Regions from separate parts of the Homo sapiens genome. Here region 2 is linked to region 1. The links are contacts of gene promoters, found by promoter capture Hi-C in human tissues and cell types (Jung and others, 2019). All regions are on one chromosome and are shown on one strand. Each heading gives the region's core, a stretch centred on a gene start or on the middle of the fragment in contact. The rest is flanking DNA. Distances are from core to core; before and after follow the strand shown. Region 1 overlaps LRRFIP1 (LRR binding FLII interacting protein 1). Region 2 holds the start of ESPNL (espin like).

The links. Contacts are between HindIII fragments. The study calls those that stand out against the background at their distance.
Region 2: the fragment with the promoter of ESPNL here is called in contact with a fragment that was not itself captured in region 1 in 1 of the 25 tissues and cell types used here (H1 embryonic stem cells).

What each region holds. Positions count from the first base shown.
Region 1 is chr2:237,696,001-237,701,235 of GRCh38, reverse strand. The region is part of intron 1 of LRRFIP1 (LRR binding FLII interacting protein 1); the gene reads right to left. Among named protein-coding and RNA genes, the nearest start is that of LRRFIP1, 71 kb to the right of the region's middle. RefSeq lists enhancers at 727-776, 787-836, 3,943-4,152 and a silencer at 2,830-2,879. The HindIII fragment of the contact is 4,703 bases long and covers 1,627-5,235 here.
Region 2 is chr2:238,098,334-238,103,568 of GRCh38, reverse strand. ESPNL (espin like) reads right to left here and starts at 3,229. Exons shown (of 9, transcript NM_194312.4): 1 at 2,856-3,229; 2 at 1,438-1,628. The coding sequence starts at 3,149. It overlaps SCLY (selenocysteine lyase), which reads right to left. Exons shown (of 12, transcript NM_016510.7): 12 at 4,156-5,235. The coding sequence ends at 5,214. UBE2F-SCLY (UBE2F-SCLY readthrough (NMD candidate)) reads right to left here. Exons shown (of 19, transcript NR_037904.1): 19 at 4,156-5,235. RefSeq lists enhancers at 852-1,021, 4,787-5,081, 4,716-5,235. The HindIII fragment of the contact is 18,069 bases long and covers 1-5,235 here.

The DNA of each region.
Region 1 (5,235 bases), core at 2,729-5,228:
AAGAACAGAAACACAACCAACACTGGTGGGGCAGGGGCCCTGACTGCTGGCAAAGGGACAGCAGGTGCTGCGGGAGGCTCGCTGGGCAGCTTGCTTCAAAAGCCCCACACTCCTTCAGGGGATCCTGGCACTGCTCATACATTTCCTGAGCATTGAAGCTTTTCTGGGATTCCAGCCTAGTGTAGAATTACAGATCCCAGGGCCTCTCACCCTACAGTCACAGGAAATGTTCTTACTCTGCTTTTAAACTCTGTGGTGATACCCTAGGGGTCCAGAATTCTACACAGAAGCTGGAAGGGGTTTATGAGCCACAACTTTAGGGCAGGCAGTTCCTGAGAAATACTCTGACGTCACTCCTTCCACCCAGGCTGAGAAGGCCCTGCAGCCTGGAAAGCACCGCATGTGAACCAGAGGCGGCTCCCACCTCCCCCCGCAGAGCCCAGGGGAGACCCAGGGCATACAGCTCATGTGCAGATTCGTGGCTGCCATGCCCGCCGTTTGCCAGGAGCCTGTTAGCGCATATTAGGGACACCCAGTGGGCCAATGGACAGAGGACTGGACCATGAACAGCAGCTCTCCTCAGATGTCAGATGGAAATGACGCCCCACGGGGCTGTTCAGGGAGAGAAGCCGTTTGCCAGCTGTAAAGCACTCTGCAAACAGGAGGAAGTTCTCCTATTAATTACACACATTCATTTTCGCCTCCAGGTTTTAGCGTCAAGCAGAGAAGTGAAAAAGCAGCAGCATTATTTTTCTAGGCCCCATGATACATCACCAGTCTAGTTTATAACCTTTTTGGAAAAGTGTTAAGGATGTAATTCAAGTTCACTCACGTGAATGTGACAGGAATATGATGCAGCCGAAGCCTGAAGTGGCCACAAAGGCCAGTTTGTTCACAGACAAGCAGGGGCCTCGGTCCTTGTGCGATTCTTCCCCTGAGCTAAGAAGGAATCAAGCTCCTGGAGGGGCCGTGGTGTACCCAGGCTGTGACACGGGATCCCTTTCCTGAGCCACTTTGCTATAGGAAGTAGCCACAGCCACCAACTTTTGTTTTCTCTGCAAACCCCCCAACCCTCAGATGCAGTGGCCTCTAAAGTTTGCTATTCACAGCAACCAAGTGGGCCGGGTGATGTTCTCCTGCACAGACGTGGACAAGAACGGACGGCACAAGGCTAGCACCTCCGCAACGCAAGGGAGGCTCACCTCGGTTCCGTGTACCCACCACCCCATGTCCCCCAGAGGCGATGTGCACTGTATCTCAGTTCCAAAAGAAATGCTCATGTGGGCAATCTCACGAAGTCCCCCAGGAACCACAAAGAGCCTTCCCTACGGCCATGACTGTGAGAACGATCGTTACCAGGCACAGGGCACTCTGGGGTGGCAGCTGGCAGTGGCGGAAGTGTTGACTTAGAGGGCATTTTGGAAATGTTGGGGGGACTGGGATGTCAAAAAGATTGGGAAGAAGCTAAGGGTATTGGGGCGGGGGGGCAGGGCCAGGTCGGCCAACCATCCCGCATTCAGACACGCCTGCGATGGGAAGAACTTTTCCCTTGACTGCTCAGGAAGATAGAAAAACCACTGTTTTGGCCGGGTGCGGTGGCTCACGCCTGTAATCCCAGCACTTTGGGAGGCCGAGGCAGGCGGATCATCTGAGGTCAGGAGTTCAAGACCAGTCTGACCAACATAGTGAAATCCCATCTCTACTAAAAATACAAAATTAGCCGGGCATGGTGGCGCATGCCTATAATCCCAGCTACTCAGGAGGCTGAGGCAGGAGAATCACTTGAACCCGGGAGGCGGAGGTTGTAGTGAGCCGAGATCTCACCATTGCACTCCAGCCTGGGCGACAGAGCGAAATTCCATCTCAAAAAAAAAGAAAAAAAAAAAAAAGAAAAGAAAAACCACTATTTTTAATTTTTGGATTTACAAACTGATTGCAACTTACATATAAACTCAAAATATGTTTTACACAGTTCAAATATACATGAACTATTCCAGGAATGCAATCGACATGGAAATTGAAGGAAGATGATGATACTTGGCTTTGTTCAGAACTTTCCTGAGAGTTAGTCAACTTTGTAGAATGTCACGTCATAGACAGCAACATGAGGGGTGGTGTGTGGGTCTCAGTGCAACACACCTGTGTCAGCCTCCCTGTGACGCCAGGCACAGGTGTGTGCAGGTCTCATCACTGCATTCAACTGCTGGTGTACTTGGTCTTGAGTATTTCTATATCAAAATTCTTATTATGTTACTATAAACTACCTGTATTTTATTTTTTAAGGAAATGTTATATTGACTCGAAATTATGTGCGCTGGTTGACTTTCTCACCTATGCATTTCATTTCAGGCTAGTAAGGAAGTTAAGGAACTTGTAAAAAGACAGGGTTGAGAACCACAGCTTCAGAACTCCAGTGTGGATCTCTCGTCTCTCCATCACACTGTATGAACCAGCCCCGGCACAATTCAGAGCACAGGTCTGGGTGCCTGGTGCTCAGGCCATCATGAAGATTTGGATGGCATAAAGTTAGAGATCAAAGCCTAACTGATTACTTAAAACACTATGTTTCCATCAAAATTAACTCAGACAAATTATGGAGTAGACTGAAATTACCATGAAAGTTTACGGTAAGACGGCCACCTTCAAAGAAGGCTTTAGCTTACAAGGCTGCTCCTGGCCGGGCCCACAGGCCCCAGGAGCCAGCACACTGTCCTCTGCACTCGGGGGACCTGGCAGACAAGTCCAAGAAATGCTGGGTGCCGACTGCTTCTCTCAGCTATGGCTGCACTGTTCTCAGTAAAGGTCTGAGTTTATGCAGGTGCAGACTGTCAAGAAAGGAGTCTGAAGACCCAGCCACAGCCTCCAGCTTGGGCTCTGTCACCTACAGTTATGTGAGCCTGGATAAGTTACTCGGTTTTTGAACCCCAGCCCTCATTAAAGAAGTAGGAGGGGACGTAATCTTTAAGAGCTTCCTTCCCCTCTGAAATTCTTTGGGTTCATGCCAGAGGTGAATTATTTGTACACTGAGATTGTCCACAGACTGTGTCTGTTTTGCTACTGGAAATCTCCAGGCTTTGCTTTTCAGAATAATAAGCTTCTTTAAAGTCCTTCGCATCCTAAAATAGCAAACGTATTAATCGGGAACAAAATGATTGATGTTACTTTATTGATGACTCACACATTGACCTATTCAAACCTCACAACACAATCTTGGGCTTAGCAGCTACTCCCACTGGCGCTAAGAAATAAATACGCTATACAGTATCTTCCATGCAAGTGAACTTCTACTCTTGCTGTTAATACATTTCTTGCTTTTCCTGAGATGAATGAATCTTCATATTTCCTTCAATTGCCTCAACATGATGGAAATACAAGAACCATGACTACCACTAACAGAGACGTGCGGGACTGAGAGGCGAGGGCGGCTGGGCCTCCCCTGTGCCGTTTCCTCTCCAGGTGACAGGTTTCCCTCCAGGCAGCACGTCTGGGCTCCACTCCCTTCACCTTTGCCTGCTCTGCTCAAGACTGTCCTACAAACCCCAGACCTCTAGGGTTTCACAAAAACATTTAAATTGTTTCCTCTGAGAAGAAGGCTGAAAGCTCCACCAGCACCAGGGCAGCACACAGCAACTGACAATCTTTCCTATATTCAGTGGATATTCCCTGGAACCAGCTATAAAAGAAACAGCAGCTGTCATGTTTATCCTCCATGAACTTATCTACTTGGATGAGGTAGGGGAGGAGTTACATCATACCCAGAAAAATAAAAAGGCTTAAATCACAGCAGCTCTCAGGTGTATGCCGACATAAGCAGTAGTTAACATTTTAGCATGGTACAAAAATAGCAAAACAAGTTTCACAGCTATTTCATTTCTACCATTATTTTCCTTATGTAGAAAAGTAAAGCTCATTGGGCCGGGTGTGGTGGCTCATGCCTGTAATCCCAGCACTTTGGGAGGCCGAGATGGGAGGATCACTTGAGGTCAGGAGTTTGAGACCACCCCGGCCAATGTGGTGAAACCCCATCTCTACTAAAAATACAAAAATTAGCCGGGTGAGGTGGCAGGCACCTGTAGTCCCAGCTGCTTCAGAGGTCTGAGGCAGGAGAATCGGTTGCACCTGGGAAACGGAGGTTGCAGTGAGCTGAGATTGTGCCATTGCATTCCAGCCTGGGCAATCAAGCACGACTGTCTCAATAAAAAAAAAGAAGGAAAGTAAGTTCGTTCTTTGAATGTTCTCTTCTGTCTGGAAATTACCAGGCAGAGAACAGAAAAGTTTGACAGAGTGAAGACTTCCCAGTATGCATTCAAGACAAGGACTTCTGTCCTAAGAGGCAGCTTTGGTAAAAAGAAATCCTTCAGCCCCAATACTGGGGTATGAGACAGCAGGGCTGCCAAGAAAAGCTGACAACAGCGACAAAAGCAGCAGCAGCAGCCGTGGCAGCCACAGCTATATCTTGCACATTTACTACCTGCCAGCCCCTGCCTGCAGCATTGCATACAGTGGTGACAGTTATCAGTACCAGTTCCGAGTCAGCAGGCCTGGGTCTGAACTGGCTCCACTGCTGACTAGCTGTGAGGGCTTGGAAAGTCCCTGACCTTTCTGAGCCTCAGTTTCCTCTTTATCTGAAAAACTGAGAGAAAACGATCTGCTCCCCATGAGGTTACAGCAAGGGTTAGAGAAGACCTTCACATAAAACACCAGGTGGGCGCAGCAGGGGTTTGGTAAATATTAGCTACTTTCACTACTTAGTGTCTTCTTTGACAGCTACTGACCTAAGAGTATAAATCCGGTTCAGAGAAGTTTAGAAGCACGATGAGAAGACAAGCATGCTAAGGCACCCACCTAGCAGAGAAGCAGGAAAAACTGGGGAAACTTCAGAGGAGGGGGACAGAGGTTCTCAACCCACAGGGAAAGCCCACTCCTTTCCCTAGGAAAATCACACAGCCACGTGCCACATACAGTAAAAAAGACAGAAGGATCACAGGTGGCGTTGCTTTGATCATCTTCATTACACAAATAAATGAAACATTTTGGTTAAAATTAAGAGTAAATCTTCATTATAGTGATTTAAGATAAATTACTTCTCTACTACAAAGTAGTTATACTTTAGATTCAAGGGAAAACTACTTACCTAGTTTTAAAGTTGTAAAGTTACAATCCCAAGGAGAAACCACTGGAAACACTGGCCCTTTCCAAAATGAATGAATGAGTCTCGGAATACATATAATTTCT
Region 2 (5,235 bases), core at 1,980-4,479, 400 kb before region 1:
GGGCAGCCACCTCTCGGCTGCTGCTGGTCAATGCCAGGCGGGAACTAGGCCGGGGGTACAGGACCTTCCCATTTGTGTGTGCGTGTGTGCGTGTGTGTGTGCATATTAACATGAAGCCTCCTGGTTTTCTTCTTTTTTTTGAGACATGGTCTTGCTCTATCGCCCAGGCTGGAGTGCAGTGGCACAATCCCAGCTTACTGCAACCTCCGCCTCCCAGACTCAAGTGATCCTCCCACCTCAGCCTCCTGAGTTGCTGGGACTACAGGCAGTCACCACCATGCCTGGCTAATTTTTAAATAAATTTTTTTGTAGAGATGGAGGTCTCGCTACATTGCCCAGGCCAGTCTTGAATTCCTGGGCTCAAGCAATCCTCCAGCCCCAGCCTCCCAAGATGCTGGGATTACAGGCATGAGCCACTGTGCTCGGCCCAAGTCTCCCAGTTTTCAATGGTGGAAACTTCTTTAAAAGCCGTGTGGGTCTGAGAGAGACTGTGGCCAGCCAAGGCTGAGGGTGGTGTGGACGCTCTGGAGAAAAGCCACAGAAGCGAATCCCAAAGGCCTTTGCCAAGCAGTCCAGGATGGGAACACCCGGGAATGAGAACCCGATTCCACAAGCAAGCTGTCGGGGCTTGTCCTGGAGCTAAGGGGGTGTGGGGGACTGAGGCCTCTGGGGCAGCGACAGGAAAATGAGATGCTGCCTCGAAAAGAGAAGAGCCGTGGTCAGAGGTAGGTGGGTCCCTGGGGGACAGGAAGGTTCGCCCTCAGCCAAGACAGTAGGAGGCAGAGGGCCTGTTCCTATGACAACAGTGACCTTTGTAAGCAGGGCGAGGACTGGAGGAGCTTCCAGGTGGGGAGGGAGGCCATCTGCCTTACTGGCTGTCCTGACCCTGGTCCTTCCTCGTTGCCCATCCACTAATTCCAGCAGGGGGCACAGGGCCCCAGAGACGATGAGGCCAGCGCCCGGCTCTAGGGGTCCCAGCACAGGGGTGGGGCAGTGCAGAGGCAGCTCCAGCCTCTGTGTCCCCAAGTCCACTAGACAGTCCCCACTCCTGTCAGGTGATGGGAGGGTGCCCTCACAGGTTGCCAGCTGCCCACGTCCCCAGCTGTTTTAGGTCCCGAGATGCCCCCAGGTGGGGCCAGAGCTGCCCTGGGCATCACAGCAGCATCTTGCCATCGTCACCGCCCCCAGCCACTCTCCAAGCTGAAGCACTGGCCTGTGTCCCCTTGGGCCCTGGCATGGCACTGCCACTGCCTGGCCTGTGGGTAGAGGCCTCATTGCCCTTGGCTCCTGCCAGCTCACCCCCACAGTGACAGCATGCCCGCCTGCAGGATTCACCTCAAAGGCCACCAGCCTGTCCTCTTGGCCCTCCATGGTGCAGCCTCCCCTTGGCCAGCTCGCCCCAGGCTGCCCCCCCAGGCGGGACTTTGGGCTCCTTACCTGCCATGCGCGGCTGTCAGGAGCTTGAGGCAGGTCAGGTCCCCACTGACGGCAGCGTGGTGCAGCGGCCGGGCTCCCTCCCGGGTCTCTAGCGTGGCCGAGTGGCCCTCGTGGAGCAGCCACTCCACCAGCACTGGGTGTCCAAAACGGGCGGCCAGGTGCAGCGGGGAGACGCCCGAGGCATCTTGGTCCTACCAAGCCCCGGGTAGGTCAGTGAGTGGGGGGTAGGCCGTGAGGTCAGAGCCAGCTGCCGGAGGTGGGCCCTGGGCGAGGGCTCACACTGCCTGCAACCCAGTGAAGGGGCTTCCAGCTCCTTCCTCCTTCCCTCCGTTTCTGCCTGCAACATGGAGGGAGGTGCTCCCTGCTGGGACTGAGGTGAGAGGAGGGCCAGGACTCAGGTCCAGGTCTTGGGAGGCCACCTCTGGCAACCCTGCCCTCTCCTGGGCCCGTCCCCAGTGTGGAGAAGGCCCTTTCCCACGCAGTCGGGTGCCCGCAGACACCTGCCCACTCTGCTCATGGTCAGAAAGGCTTCCCAGGACACCTACCTCTGGCTGGTCCCCTGCCCCAGTGCCCTCCCGCTGGCCACAGGGTCCCGGGGCCAGGGAGCGTTCCTACCACAGGTGTCAGGGGTCCAGCAGACCTGGGCCTTCTCCAAGGGCCCTGTCAGAATGGATCCCCAGGCAGGCACAGCTCCCGCCTGCTGCCCTTGGGTTTGGCGGAAGGGCCGACAGGAACAGGATGCTGGGCCGGGACTCTCAGGTGCTCTGGCGAGCCAGGTGCTGGGGAACCTTCCCGCTCCGCAGTCTAAGCAGGCCCCACCGGCCCCCACCTCAACTCTGACCTCTGGGCGGCGGCGTTCTAAGGCCGGTCAGTCCTGCTCACCCTCAGCCCTGAAAGCTCCACAGGGCTGAGCGACAGCTCTAAGGGCCTCGCCTGCACAAAGGGGACTGGGCAGGCAGGATAGGGGAGGGGGGCCCAGTAGAAACGATCCGGACAAGACGATCACCATCAGCAGCCCTAACTCCCGTCCCCCAGGGCTAGGCTCCCAGCTCTCAAGCCCAAGTTCCCACAGTGCTTCTGTAAGGATCCCTTTCTAGACCCTTTGGGAGGCAGGCCCTGTGGACCAGGCCTGATCAGAGACAGGGGTCCTGATATCTGGCAAGACCCCCACTGGCAACGCCCAGCTTCCTGGCAGGGAAGGTGATAAGAAAATTTAGGAGGTGTTCTTGGCTCTCAAGCCTTTGTGCTCTGAGAGGCGTGGGGCAGAGACGGTAACCACTGACTGAGTCCCCAAGAGAAACAAAGGGCCCAGGGCCATGGAGCCCGGGGTGGCCAGTACTCTGATCCTCCGTGGCTCACACCTCCCTGGTTCCACCCCAGCCAGCTTCGTGGAGCCAGGCTGCCCCATCCCCGCTCACCTGCAGACCGCAGCCCCCCTCGCGGACCAGCCAGCACAGCTCGGCCAGGCTGCCCGTGGCAGCGGCGTCATGCGCTGGGGTGGCCCCGTTGTGGGCCCGCTGGTTGCCGGGCAGCTGGGCCCGCTGCACCAAGAACTTGACGCAGTCCAGGTGGCCAGCCCGGGTGGCGTGGTGAACCAGGCCGGCCCCCAGAGCATCGGTGATGCCCGGGCCCAGGGCGCCAGCCTCCAGCAGCCGCTCCAACGTCGCCACATCCCCATCCTTGGCGGCCACGAGTGCCCGCTGCTTCTCCATCCTCTGGCCCGGGCTCTCAGTGGCGACTCATGCACAGGCTGGGGCTTCCTGTTTCAGACGTGGATGAAGCTGCCGGCTCTGGTTACCCGATAAGCTGCCACAGGGCAGATGGGAGGCGGTGGGGTGGGGTCGGGTGGGGGGACAGGCCTTGAGGACCTGCCCAAGCCACTCCCACAGTGTGAGGGTGCCAGGTGCCTGGAGCTGGGAGGATGGAGTACAGGGCACAGGGAAAGGCCCACACCAGGCTAGGTCAGGGCTGGGTATGGCCAGCAGAGAAAGGAGGCTGGCCCTGAGGCTGCTCAGATCTGTCCAGATGGCAGGAACTTCATCTGTGGAGCGAGGGCTGAGGATACACGCCACTGAGCTTCTCACAGGAGCCCCGAGTGGCCTGGGAGACAGTTCCCCCAACTCTCACAGAAGGGCAGACCCCCAGCCGCCACCACAGTGTGTCTGAAGTAAAGGGTGCCCAGTAGGTCTACATGTTTGGCTGTGTTGACACCCACAGAGCTGAGCGCCCCGCCTCTGGGTCCCGGCCCTCGGCCCTGGAGGCTCCTAGGAATCTCTGGGGACACAGTGGCTCCACGGGGCCTGCAATGGGCTCAGGACCCTGACTTGGGTGTGTCCAGGCCTCTGAGGCGAGAAGGTGTCAGCCCCTGCCTCGGCCCCCTCTCCAACTACACGGACCAAGTCTCTGGGCTGCAGCCCCAAGGGCCCAAGTACATTTAACCCCTTTCCAGATTGTTCTGGACAATCCATAGTTCTTCTTTAGGGAAGTCAGGACCACCACAGCCTCTTCCTGGCAGCAATGGGAAGCTGCAGATGGGGGACCCATTACATTTGTAGGGGCTTCCGGAGACACAGCCTCAAGCTGGATTTCTGGGCTAACGCATCATCACACAATGGTGACCTGGGGGCTGCTGCACCCCTGGCTTCCCCCCGACAGGCTCTGTCAGATGACTTTGTGCCCAAGCGCAGTGCCCACTAGAGAAACCACAGGATCCCCAAGTCGGGCACTGAAATCTTTTATTCGTTAATTTAGTTTCTGGCAAGTGTTTCCTCAAAATCATCAAGTAGTTCCTTGAACCGTAAAACCACACATTAAAAATGTTATTCCACTGAAAATGACTCCTATGCAAATATCGACATGTGATGTGTGTCCAAATGCCAGAGCATTTTGAGAAAAGAATCCTCTGCAAATAAAATTAAGGTAAAAGCTGAGTCAGGGATGATCCGATTCCCACCCCAGGAATGACCTGGAGCTGCACCAACTCAGCGAGGTTGGAGCTGAAACCCTGAGTTAATAATGATCAAAAGGGACAAGACAGGAAGGCCTGGGGACCGTGGACAGGGAAGTGCGCAGCCCTGATTGCCAGTGGGCGGAACAGGGTCAGGCTCGGGGAAGCAGGAGGGGTGGTGGGCGGTGGGCGCTGAGCAGAGCAGGCCTGGCCGAGGCTGGGGGCCACTGTGCACTGAGGCCAGAGGAGCAGGGTGGTGGGGGCAGCTTTGGAAAGGGACTAAAAAGGGCCTGAGAAGAGACCACTCTGGAAAGGTGCATGTAGAGGCCATGATCAAAACAAAAAAATCAAGTTTCCTACGTTCATGATAGCATTTGGCTGACAATGAGTTATAAATACTTGGATTCTATCTTCCAGATAAAAACACCTTCCAGGAAAGGGCACTCACAACAGGCGTGCCCAGTTCCCAGTGGGGAGGGTGGATAAAGCTAAGTGTTTCCGCTTCACCACTGGAGGACGGTTCTATGTGGGCGGTCCCATGTGGGCGGTCCCATGTGGGCGGTCCCATGTGGGCGGTCCTATGTGGGCGGTCCTATGTGGGCGGTCCCATGTGGGCAGTCCTATGCGGCGTTGGTGTCCTGGGCCCTGTGAGCTCTGCAGGGGTCCAGGGAAGGAAACTGGGGGTGCACACTCGCTGGCACTCCAGGACAAAATGCAGAGGGGGCATGAGACAGTCATCCTGGCACAGCCCTCAGGAGGGAACTGGAGGGACAACCCTGTGCCCTGCCACGGGCTTCCCAGAAGCGGGGTGGGGAAGGCGGCCCCAGTGCTAGGCCTGGTCCTCCAGCTGC